Regions from separate parts of the Homo sapiens genome. Here all the other regions are linked to region 3. Evidence: promoter capture Hi-C in 16 types of primary human blood cells and fetal thymus (Javierre and others, 2016). All regions are on one chromosome and are shown on one strand. Each heading gives the region's core, a stretch centred on a gene start or on the middle of the fragment in contact. The rest is flanking DNA. Distances are from core to core; before and after follow the strand shown.

Region 1 (3,777 bases), core at 788-3,287, 420 kb before region 3:
CTGTGTTTAATTTTTTGAAGACATTTCAAACTGTTGTCCAGGGCAGCAGCACCATCTTATAATCCTACCAGCAATGTGTGAGGGTTCCAATCGCTCTACATCCTTGCTAACTCTGTTAGGATGTGACTTTCTGATTGCAGCTTTCTTAGTGGGTGTGACGTGGTATCTCATTGCAGTTGGTTTGCATTTCCCTAATGACTCATGATGTTGAACATCTCTTCAGGAGCTTATTGCTCATTTGTATATCTTTCTCAAACTTTTGTCCATTTTAAAACTAAAATGTCTTTTTATTGTTGCCTTGTAAGAGTTCTTTATATATTATGGATACAAGTCTCTTATCAGATGTATGATTTGCAAATCTTTTCTCCCATTCTGTGGGTTGTCTTTTCACTTTGTTGATGGTATCCTTTGAAGCACAAAAGTTTAAAACTTTGATGAATTCCAATATATCTATTTTTTCTTTTGTCACTTTTGTGTCATATCTAAGAAGCCATTGCCTAAGGACCCAAGGATTTACTCCTATATTTTCTTTTAGGCATTTTATGGATTTACCTTGAAGACACTGCTCCATTTTGGCTTATGTTTTGTATATGGTGTGAGGCAGTGGCTCAGCTTCTTTCTCTTGCATGTGGATATCCAGTTGTCCCAGCACAGCTAATTGAAAAGACATTTTTCTCATTAAATTGTCTTGGCACTCTTGTCAAACTTCATTCTCTTTGCTAATTTTCTCAGTTCTGTGTTCTTTTTCTGCTCTTATCTTTATTATTCCCTTTCTTCTAGTTACTTTGGGCTCACTTTGCTCTTCTTTTTCTAGTTTCTTATTGTGGACTCTTAAGTCTCTGTTTTTGTACACCCTCCCACCACCTGACCCAGTATAAGCACTTAAAGGTATAACTTTCTCTCTAACCACTGTTTGCTTACATTCCACAAATTTTTACCTTTTTCATTATCATTTAGTTCCAAGTATTTTCTAATTGCCGTCATGATTTCTTCTTTGACCTATTGATTCTCTAGAAGTGAATTGTTTCATTTCCAAATATTTGGTGTCTACTTATCTTATTGTTTTTAATTTCTATGTAATTCTGTTTTAATCAGAGAATAGGCTCTATAAAATATAAATCCTCTTCAATTTATTGAACCTTGTTTTATGGTCCAGCATATGGTCTATTTTGGTCAACAAACCACATGTGCTTGAAGAGAATGTGTATTCTGCAGTTGTAACTGGTAGATATAGATTCTATAAATAGCAATTATATAAAAGTGGTTAATAGTGTTGTTCAGTCCATCTATCTTTTTCTTGATTTTTTTCTAGCAGCCCTATCCTAAGATATTCATATTCATATTCATCTATGATTGTGGATTATTTCTGTCAATTTTTTCCTCAGGGATATTTAAGCTCTGTTACAAGACACACACCCTCATAGGATTCTTTGTCTTCTTAGTATATTAATGCCTTTATCCTTATAAAAGATCCTTCTTTGGTAATTTTTTTTCTCAAAGTCCATTTTGTCTGATAACTAGATAGTGTGGGGTGGGGGAAAGGGAGAGGGTCAACAGAGCACCCTTCATCCCCACTGAGCGTAGAACCAACTGAGAGGTAAACCTAGCTGTGGGCAGATGGAGATTAAATGTCAGCGTTCGTGCTGATGAAGCCAATCAGAGGCTGTGGCCCTAGATTTGTGTCCAGATGGGCCTGTTAATACTTCCCTCAAAATTAGGTGGCCTTGCACATCCGGTCACTGGCCCAGATGGACAATAGTCAGCCTTTTCCTTTCACCCTCATCCAGGGCAGACAGCAGAAGGCAGAGGGCAGGTAGGTGGATGGACTTCTGAGGCAGAGTGAGGGGCCCAGAGGAGCCTGCCCAATTCTTCCTCTAAAGACCACCAGTAAGTGAAATGAAGAGGCCAGGGGCTGAGGGAATATTCTAGAGAGGGTTTCCACATAGAAACAAGGAGAATGTGCCCCTTCTAAAAGGTCTCTACAGCTATGAGAGCATGTGAGCTTACCCAAGAAGAGTGAAGGGTGAGGAAGGAGAGGACCTGGACCGAGCACTGGGGGCCACCAGCATTCAGAGGCTGGGCTGCGGAGGAAGGTCCCCTGAAGGATATGGAGAAGGGGTCCCCAGGGATGTCATGGAAGCAAAGGAAGGCATTTCAAGGCGGCATTGCCAGCTGCCAAGAGGCTGAGAAAGTTGAGATCCCCTCATGAAAGCCCAGGCTTGTCCACTGGGGTAGAATTTTGGCAAAGAATCTTTCAAGCCACACACTGAGCACACTTCTGACTTCCCCAATTATGGTAGAAAGGAGAATTATTTACCCTGACCTGGGAGGAAGATTTATAGGTTTATAGGCCCTTAAAGTCACAGTACTCAGACTCTGTTTTCCTAATGGTGAATGGCAAAGAAAACAGCGTTCAAAAATAAACGCCGGTAAACGTGGAAGGCTAGACTCCTTCCTGTGGCTTATTTTAACTTTCATATAAGAAAACATAATCGTTGATTACCTTGGCAATATACCATGCCTTATCAAAGGGCTTTAAAGCACTCTCATTAATCCTTTCAATATACTTGGATAAGAGGTGAAAACAAATATGTGTATTTTGGCCTCATCCTAGAGAAAAAGGAGAGAGTTGGAGAGAAGTCGAGGGCTTTTCTCCCAAAATCCTGGGGGATGACGTGGCATCAGCCGTGGCCTATAGTGCACAGGCCAGAAACTGCCCCCTGCAGCTAAAGCACTGGAACAGAAACGAAGAAGATTCATGACTCAGCTGAAGAGAAGTGAAAAGGTGAGCAATTATATAATGAACAGAATATGCGTCATAGAGTCCTCAAATAACAAACTCACATTTCAAACTCTTTCAGGGCAGAAATAATATTTTACCATTCTTTTCATTGTTGACAGTCCCTAGTACAGGCTAAGACCTCAGCAAATATTTCCTTCCTGGCTGATGACACAGGTTGTCTCTCTGTGTGTATGGGAAGAGTATAGAGGGATGTGAATCTTATTCAGTATATAGAATAAGTAGTTTTCTAAGATTTTGTCCATGGAAGTGATGCAATCAGCTCAAATTTGACCAAAATGGTCTAGGCCCGCTGTGGGTTTTCGGAAGGAAACCTAGTAGAAATGAGTGAGATGAGCTTAAAGTATAAAGGAGCTGAGAGCAAACAAAATAAAAGGCTGGAGTCTGTTTACTGCAAAATTGTCTGTTTTTGCATGAAAGTGTATTTTGGGGCACCCATTTGTGCACTCACCCAACAAATATTTATTGAGCACCTATTATTATATGTCATCGTGCTGGGTGCTTGGCAGTTACAAAGATAAATGAGATGGATTTTCTACCTTGAATATGTCATGGTCAAATGAGGATACCCTGTAGATGTTCTTGACCAAATCATACTTTTTTATTTTATTTTATTTTATTTTATTTTATTTTATTTTATTTTATTTTATTTTATTTTTGAGGAGTCTCACTCTGTCACCCAGGCGGGAGTGCAGTGGCGCAATCTCGGCTCACTGCAAGCTCCGCCTCCCGGGTTCATGCCATTCTCCTGCCTCAGCCTCCCAAGTAGCTGGGACTACAGGCGCCCTCCACCACACCCGGCTCATTTTTTTGTATTTTTAGTAGAGACGGGGTTTCACCGTGTTATCCAGGATGGTCTCGATCTCCTGACCTTGTGATCCGCCTGCCTCGGCCTCTCAAAGTGCTGGGATTACAGGCGTGAGCCACTGCACCCAGCCTTTCTTGACCAAATCATACTTTGGATGTTGGATGGAAGC
Region 2 (3,911 bases), core at 898-3,397, 390 kb before region 3:
AAACTGTCTTTAAGTTTCCCAGAATTGAAGGGGCTTTTCTCGCTTGCTCACGCCCACTCTTTTGAAACCCTAATGGCTGAAGAGCATCATCAAGAGAAGGGGAAGATGAAGCTGACTCCCTGCACCTGCTTCCTCCCCATTCTGTTGGCTCGGGTCGGTGTGGGCTTTTAGCCTCTCTGAATGTGGAGGTTCCCAGGGATACGGGGAACCACAAAGGTCCATATTCTCAAATGCAGCACTTCTTAACCAAGGCATGGCTTTTTCTAGGTGGTCGGAGGCCAAATACTCTGCTGCTGGCCATCCCAACCAGTAGGCACAGGGAAATGCCAGAAAAGAAGCAGCTGGGGCTTCTCTTGCTGAGGAAGAGGGTGAAATGAACCTTGCTTGCCGCAGCCAGTTTCTGACCCTGCTGCAGAGATGACGGATGAGATTCCAGCTGTGATGGAGATGTGGTCCTGGGAGGCCATTCTAGGCACTGCTCTTCAAAGAGGTTGTCTCCATCCTGGGATAGAAGTTCATAAGGGGAAATGTACAAACACAGTTTTCCTGCCACCTCCAAGCTGCTTGGGGCCGGACTGGATGCCCTGCCGGCCCCTCACTCTTCTTACCTTTGAACATCGACCCTGGCCAGGCATTTGTTTAGGCAGGTTTTCTAATTTAACTTTTACAACAACCTGTGAAATGGCTACGATTAACCCGCTTTCATGGCTGAGCACCTGGCTGGGAGATGTAAGGTACTTGCCCAAGGAAACCAATCAATTATCAACCTGAATTTGCCTGACTTCCCACTCATGCTTTGGTTGCAGTTCCAGAGTCTGCTACAGGATCTCCCATACAGAGTGGCCTGAAGGCACTGGTTTCCCTTGGGAAACAGCGAACTCATGTCCCTGGACTTCTCCCCTGTGGCCTCCCTCCCTGCTTCCCTGGGACTGTTAGTACCTTCTCCTATGTTTCATGTTGACCATACAGCTTTGCCTTTTTCCAGTCTAGGTTTATGCCAGACATTGTGTCTGTTATTTTCCCTTTTTAAAGTGATATCTGGGCTGAGTGCAATGGCTCATGCCTGTAATCCCAGTACTTTGGGAGGCCAAGGCAGGCGGATCACCTGAGGTCAGGAGTTCGAGACCAGCCTGACCAACATGGAGAAATCCCATGTCTACTAAAAAGACAAAATTAGCTGGGCATGGTGGCAGATGCCTGTAATCCCAGCTATTCAGGAGGCTGAGGCAGAAGAATCGCTTGAACCTGCGAGGCAGAAATTGTGGTGAGCAGAGATCACGCCATTGCACTCCAGCCTGGGCAACAAGAGTGAAACTCTGTCTCAAAAATAAATAAATAAATAAAATAAGTGATATCTGTGATATCTGGCCATATCGCATCAATTTTCACTTGAGGACCCACCCCTGCCCAATCTCGGTCTCCTGGATCCCAGAGGGGTTGGTGACCTGGGGTCAGGCTCAATGAGGTACTGCTCCTCTCTGCCACTTTGTTCAGCTTGGGGGTAACATGTAACAAAGCAGAACCGATAAAGTACATTTTTACTGGGGCTAGTTTTTCCTCATGTTAGAGTTGTTAAGCTAATAAGAAGTAATCCCAGAAAGCCTGGTGGTCTTCCTTTACTACCAGTTGTAGGAACCTAATTACAAGCTCCATGAGGACCACGCATTTTTTTTTTTGTCTTGTTCAATGTACCCCCAGGGTACTCTGTTTACTGGTTACTGCATCCCCAGAGCCTGACAGTGAAACAACTCAGAGAAAAACAAGCTAAGAGATATCAGTGTCTGACATCATCATTGGAGCAGCTGGATACAGCTATGCCTGAAGTCGTTAAATTCGTTTTTATGCTTAAGTCTGTATTGGTCTTCTGCCACTTGTAACCCAAAGAGTCATGACCAACACAAGCAAGTGTTGACTCAAGTTTCTTGAGAACTTTCCTGCAAGAGCAATCACAGATAAACAGTGACCTTGGGGGCCACAGTGGTCTCCCCAGGGCCTTAACATGCCACCTTTCTTTTCTAAGATTTCTTAAGCTCTGTGGCTTACAAACCCCTTGATAGCAGTAATGTGATTTTCTCTGTGTTATTTAAGTGTTCCATAGCTGCTGGGCATGGTGGGTCACACCTGAAATCCCAGAGTTTTGAGAGGCCAAGGCAGGTGGATTACTCGAGGTCGGGAGTTCAAAACCAGCCTGGCCAACATGGTGAAACCCTGTCTCTATTAAAAATACAAAAAAAAAAAAAAAAAAAAAAAGCCAGGCATAGTGGCAGGTGCCTGTAATCCCAGTGACTCAGGAGGCTGAGGCAAGAGAATTGTTTGAGCCTGGGAGGTGGAGGTTGCAGTGAGCTGAGATTGCACCATTGCACTCCAGCCTGGACAACAGAGTGAGACTCTGTCTCAAAAATAAATAAATAAATAAATAAATAAATAAATAAATAAATATATAAATAAAATGCTCCATAGCTTTTCAGACAGGACTGGCTTCACAGTGGAAGCCTCAGGAGATACTGGGCAATCGCTGCACTGGGAGGCCAGGGTGCAGGGCTGCTTCTTCCTTTCTGTGAACTGAGAACTATACTGTCTGGTGCTTAGCGTGGTTCCTGGAGTATGCTATGTGTTTAGTAAATACTTGTTGATGGAATGAACAATGTAAAGTGCACAGATCCCTTCCAGATCTCCTGAGAAAAGCAATGCTGGAAAGTATCTGTATCCCTGTAAGCCTCTCCTCTCTCTTCTTTCGTCTCATCTCTCCTTTTAGCATGACGTTTCCCCCGATCCTCTTTGTCCGGCTTCCTTGGGGTTCAGTGGCTGTGTGGCCCAGGTGTGAATGCCTTTGTTCTAGGGGTATCACATAGGCCTTTTGACCTGTCTGTCTGCTCCAGGCTGGGAGTCTCCTGAAGTCTCCCTCTCAGTATCTTATTCAGATCTGACTCTCCAGCATCTTGGGGAATAGCTGCCTAACAGAACACTCAGAACAAATGCTCTATGCCTGAATGAGTGGTGGTTTCCTAACTCCAGCCTCCTGCTGCTCCATCCCAACCCCTTGCTTCTGTGAGAGGGTCCCTCTTCTGGAGAGATGAAGGTGAAGTCTGCTCTGATCTCACAGAGCAGTCCCCGGCCCTCTCCACCCAGCTGTCTGCCCCTCCTGTCAATATTACCAACTTTCCTCTCAGAGTTCTCCCTGCCATCCCACCCACCATGGCCAATAAAGCCGAGCATTGGTCCCTGCTAAGTCACAGCTAGGATACTCCCCTCCCACAGGAGGGAATACCTATTATTGTGGCACTGGACTGTCCCTGGCCCAGCTGGTTGAAATGTTTGCTCCAGCTCCATGGGCTGGCCTGGGGGGTGTTTTTTAAATTGTGGACAAAGCTGTCTTTTTTTTTTTCTTTTTTGAGACACGGTCTCGCTCTGTTGCCCAGACTGGAGTGCAGTCACACTATCACGGTTCACTATAGTCTCTACCTCCTGGGCTCAAGTGATCCTCCCACCTCAGCCTCCCAAGTAGTTGGGACTACAGGCTCATGCCACCACGCCTAGCTAATTTTAAAATTTTTTTGGTAAAGCCGGTCACTTTGTTGCCCAGGCTGGACAAAGCTGTCCTTAAGAAGAGATGGCACAGGGATTGCAAGTGAAGAAGTGAGGTTTCAGCCACACCCATCTATGCACTGGGAGGGAGCCCTTGGCCAAATCATGTCACCTCTCTGGGCTTCTGCTTCCCCAGCTGGAAAACGACCAGGGCTTGGGAGAAGAGATGAGCTCAAGGGCATTTTCCAACAACAAAGTCCTCCAACCTTTTTCCAGTTTTCTGAAGAAGGGATGACTTTCATGTGCTTAAGGGTACAGGAGGTGGGTGGGAGAAGCTGCATCACACAGGAATGCCCAGGAAGGCTCAGCCTGGTCCTACCATCTTA
Region 3 (3,492 bases), core at 993-3,492:
TTTAAAATAAGCAGGCATAGCATTTTTAACCTGCTCCCAACCCGGCAGCAGGCTTTCACAGCAACCCCCTCTTAAAGACGCCCTGGCTGTTAGCATGGCTTGTCTGCATGGATCCCCACCACCGCATGATTTAACATGTAAAAAAGCAAGCCTAGGGCAGAGGAACGAGGGAGGCCTGTCTCATCCCAGACAAGCCCAGGGTCTGTGCTAGGATAATGCCAAGCACAGCTATAGGAAAGTGTGTCACACCTGAAAAAGCTCACAGGTGCCAGGGCGAAGCAAAGAAAACAGCTCAACACCCTAAATGCAACCACCTTTTGTAACCCAGGAGTTGGGAGGGGGTGACTCATTTTGAACCTATAGTAAAAGCCAAACACACACCCCAAATAACCAAATAACCAGTTTGGTGCATCAAACTATGAAAAGCATACTACCAAGGCGTCCAGGAGGGAGGCACCGAGGCCTCCATGAGAGTACTAGGAGCAAAACAAGCAAACAGGAACACAGTGAGCTACATACCACCAGGGGCGGAGCCACAGAACCTTGCACAGCGGCAGGCGTGGAGTAGGCTCAATAAACATTTGTCAAATTAATCTGCATGAGAGATCTGGGACAACAAAGATGACTCCAAGTTTTTCAACCTGTATTAAGGAAACTGGTAGCGCCAGTATCCAAAATACAGCACACCGGTCTAAAAGGAAAGGCAAGCTCTTACGTGGATCTACTGGTAATACAGAGCCCAGAATTTAGAGGCTAGAACGGGCAAGAGGAAGGGCAGAGGGGCAAAGCATAAAGGATGTTATGAGTCATGCCGGTGGCTATGTAAGACCGCAAGAGGGAGCTGGGCGGGGTGGAACATGCAGAGGGCAGAAGAGGATCCAACGAAAAGGGCAGACGAGGAAGAGGAAAAGAACCAGAGAAGGTCTCAAGGAAGAAGCGGTCGGCCTTCCAGTGCTGGAGAGGTTAAGGAATGAGGCCCCGGAGGACACCTGGAGAAGGTGGCCCATAAATTAGAGGAGGTGCAAGGGGCAAAGGTATGGACTGCAGCCCAGTGGTTTAAGAAATTAAGGGCTTTAAGCTGAGGCAGTGTGAAGCCTAGCTCTGCCAAAAACTGGGAAGCTGGGCAGATTCCTTGACCTCCATGACCCTCGTTTTCCTCACTTGTGTGTGACATGGGCTGCCACGTCATATCATGGTATCTGACATTCTCCTGCCCTCAAAATAAAATCCAAACTCCTAATGGGCCTACTTCTCAGACCTCATATGGTGATCTCCGCACCCAAACACACCCACCTGCCTCCCACCCCAAGGGTCACAGGCTCCCTTTGTGTTCTCTCTACCTAGCACAAATGTCTGCATGGCTAGATCCTTCCTTCTTACACGGCTCACACAGAGAGGCCTTTCCTGACCACAACACTGCATGTCATTCCCACCTATCCTGTGGTCGGCTCGACCCAGGAACAAAGGTCCATGGCAGCAGAAACCTTGGGTTTGCCTGTTTTGCTCACTGCTCTCTCCAGTGTGGAGTTACGAAGAAATGAGCACATGCTGCTTTCACGACCCCTGGTACATGTAACCCATCTTCTGTACCAGCTCCAGGGGCCAGTGTTTGGCAGGTGTCTAGTAGCGGTGGGCCCCCTCAAACCTCACACTTATTTGCAGATTACGGGAGGCACTTGGCTGGCCGAGACTCACGATCAATGACTGCTTAGTAAATCCCGAGCCCCTGCCATGGATATCAAGGTCGCAGAACGAAGGTCCTACAACTTCCTGTCTACTTCCTCAGCTCCTTCCCCAAGTCCTGGATGTCAAAGCTGAACGCGCTGCACAGCGGGGCCTGCGGCCCTGGCCACGACTGCAGTGGCTACCCCGGGGCCACGCGCCATCCCTAGGCCCAGGGTTGGCAGCCTCGCCCCCCTCACCTCCCCCGTGTGCTTGCACAGGTGCGCGTCAAGCTTCCAGGCTTTGCTGTAATTGGCGCTGCAGTCAGGGAAGGAGCAGATGAACCTCCTGGGAAGCGCGGGGCGCGGCGGGGTCGGAGCTGAGCTCTCGCCGGCTGCAATGAACGCGTCGGCGATGGTCAAGGACGACACCGACTCGGCGACCACGGCCGGCGGATCCAGGGCGCCGGCGCCTCCAAGCCCAGGGCCAGGCGCGCTGCCACGTGCCGAGACACGTGCCGGGAACCGGCGCGCCCGGCCCACGGCTCCCTGCTGAACCTTCGCGCGACGCCGGCACACTTCCGGGAGCGCGCGCGGTCACCAGGCACCGCCCCGCGTCGGCGCCGCTGCTGCGCATGCTCCGGGAGATCGCGCATGCGCCAGGAGGCCCCGCCGCGGCTCGCGGCCCGTGCCCTGTCAGCCCTGGATGAGAGGCGGGGGTTTCTGCGTCCTCGGCAGAAGGCTGCTGCGTTTCACAGGCAACTCAAATCCCGAGGCACTGCTTAAATGGGGCTTGTTTCCCGTCCTCCAGTACACTCTGGAAAGCACTAGCCTTACATAATTTAAGTTAGCCTGTTGCCACATTACTAGTGTGACCTGTGTGGTTTCGTTTCTTTGCGTGCTTTACGTGCTTCTGCTGCAAGCCCCAGTTCAGAGGTTCCTAAGCTCAGATTCACGTGGAGAGCTTTACAAAATCCCGAAGCCTAGAGGATACTTGGACCACTTAAATCACAATTTCTGGGGGTAGGAAACAGGCATCAGTATTTTTGGAAACTTCCTAGGTGATTTCAATGCGCAGAAAAGTTTGGGAACCACTATCCTGGCACAGTAGTGCGCACCTGTAGTCCCAGGTACGCGGGCGAATCGCTTGAGCCCAGAGTGAGACCCCGAGCTCTAAAAGAATAAATACAGATGTCTCCCCATCCTACCCTTCCCCACCCCGGCAAACTGACCAGGTGGTTGGAAAAAAAAAAAAAAAAAAAGGAAAAGTTTGGGAACACTGCCCTAGAGCCTTGATGACCTACTTGAAACAAATCTCCAGGTGATTCAGTGCATATCAAAACCTGAGAAGCACTTTTGAGAGGCCTGAATGAATATGAGTATCTTAGTTTATGAGGACCACATGCCTAAAAAATGTCCTTGGATACAGATAACTGGCAGGATGACTTGGGGGATGTTCGCCAGATCCATATTTTTCACATCCTGCATTATTCCGAATCATTAAGCCCTTGTCGGAATGTGATGAACAGGTCCCTGCACAGCAGTGCAGTTCTGGAAACAAGCCAGGGCTTAACATCAGTGCTTATGAACTGAGTATTCCAGTTCATAAACACTCCTTTGCCTCAGTCTGCTCATCTTGAAAGTGGGAAAGTTGATAACGCCTGTGTCATCCTCCGTCTCAAGATAACGGGGCTGTGAGAGTGTCTATGCCTTGGGTCCACCTGTTGCTTTCTTCATTTGCCACTCTAGCCCCTGTCCATGGATGGGAGAATTCTACACTCATCCCTCCCACAACTCCGGAATTCTAAAATGGTTTCTCTTGCGCCAGTTC

Evidence for each region. The method cuts DNA at HindIII sites, captures the fragments that hold promoters and counts their contacts. A CHiCAGO score of 5 or more calls a contact.
Region 1: a fragment that was not itself captured here is called in contact with the fragment with the promoter of GTF3A in region 3 in 1 of 17 cell types (megakaryocytes); the score reaches 5.1 in megakaryocytes.
Region 2: a fragment that was not itself captured here is called in contact with the fragment with the promoter of GTF3A in region 3 in 1 of 17 cell types (total B cells); the score reaches 6.6 in total B cells.

What each region holds. Positions count from the first base shown.
Region 1 is chr13:27,839,164-27,842,940 of GRCh38, reverse strand. The region is part of intron 2 of PLUT (PDX1 associated lncRNA, upregulator of transcription); the gene reads left to right. Among named protein-coding and RNA genes, the nearest start is that of GSX1, 49 kb to the right of the region's middle. The HindIII fragment of the contact is 7,230 bases long and covers 1-3,777 here.
Region 2 is chr13:27,816,541-27,820,451 of GRCh38, reverse strand. PLUT (PDX1 associated lncRNA, upregulator of transcription) reads left to right here. Exons shown (of 5, transcript NR_047484.2): 5 at 1-1,360. Among named protein-coding and RNA genes, the nearest start is that of GSX1, 26 kb to the right of the region's middle. The HindIII fragment of the contact is 8,107 bases long and covers 1-3,911 here.
Region 3 is chr13:27,423,369-27,426,860 of GRCh38, reverse strand. GTF3A (general transcription factor IIIA) reads right to left here and starts at 2,242. Exons shown (of 9, transcript NM_002097.3): 1 at 1,923-2,242. The coding sequence starts at 2,123. RefSeq lists enhancers at 568-787, 1,738-1,807 and silencers at 1,898-1,977, 2,078-2,137, 2,148-2,417. The HindIII fragment of the contact is 2,756 bases long and covers 1,958-3,492 here.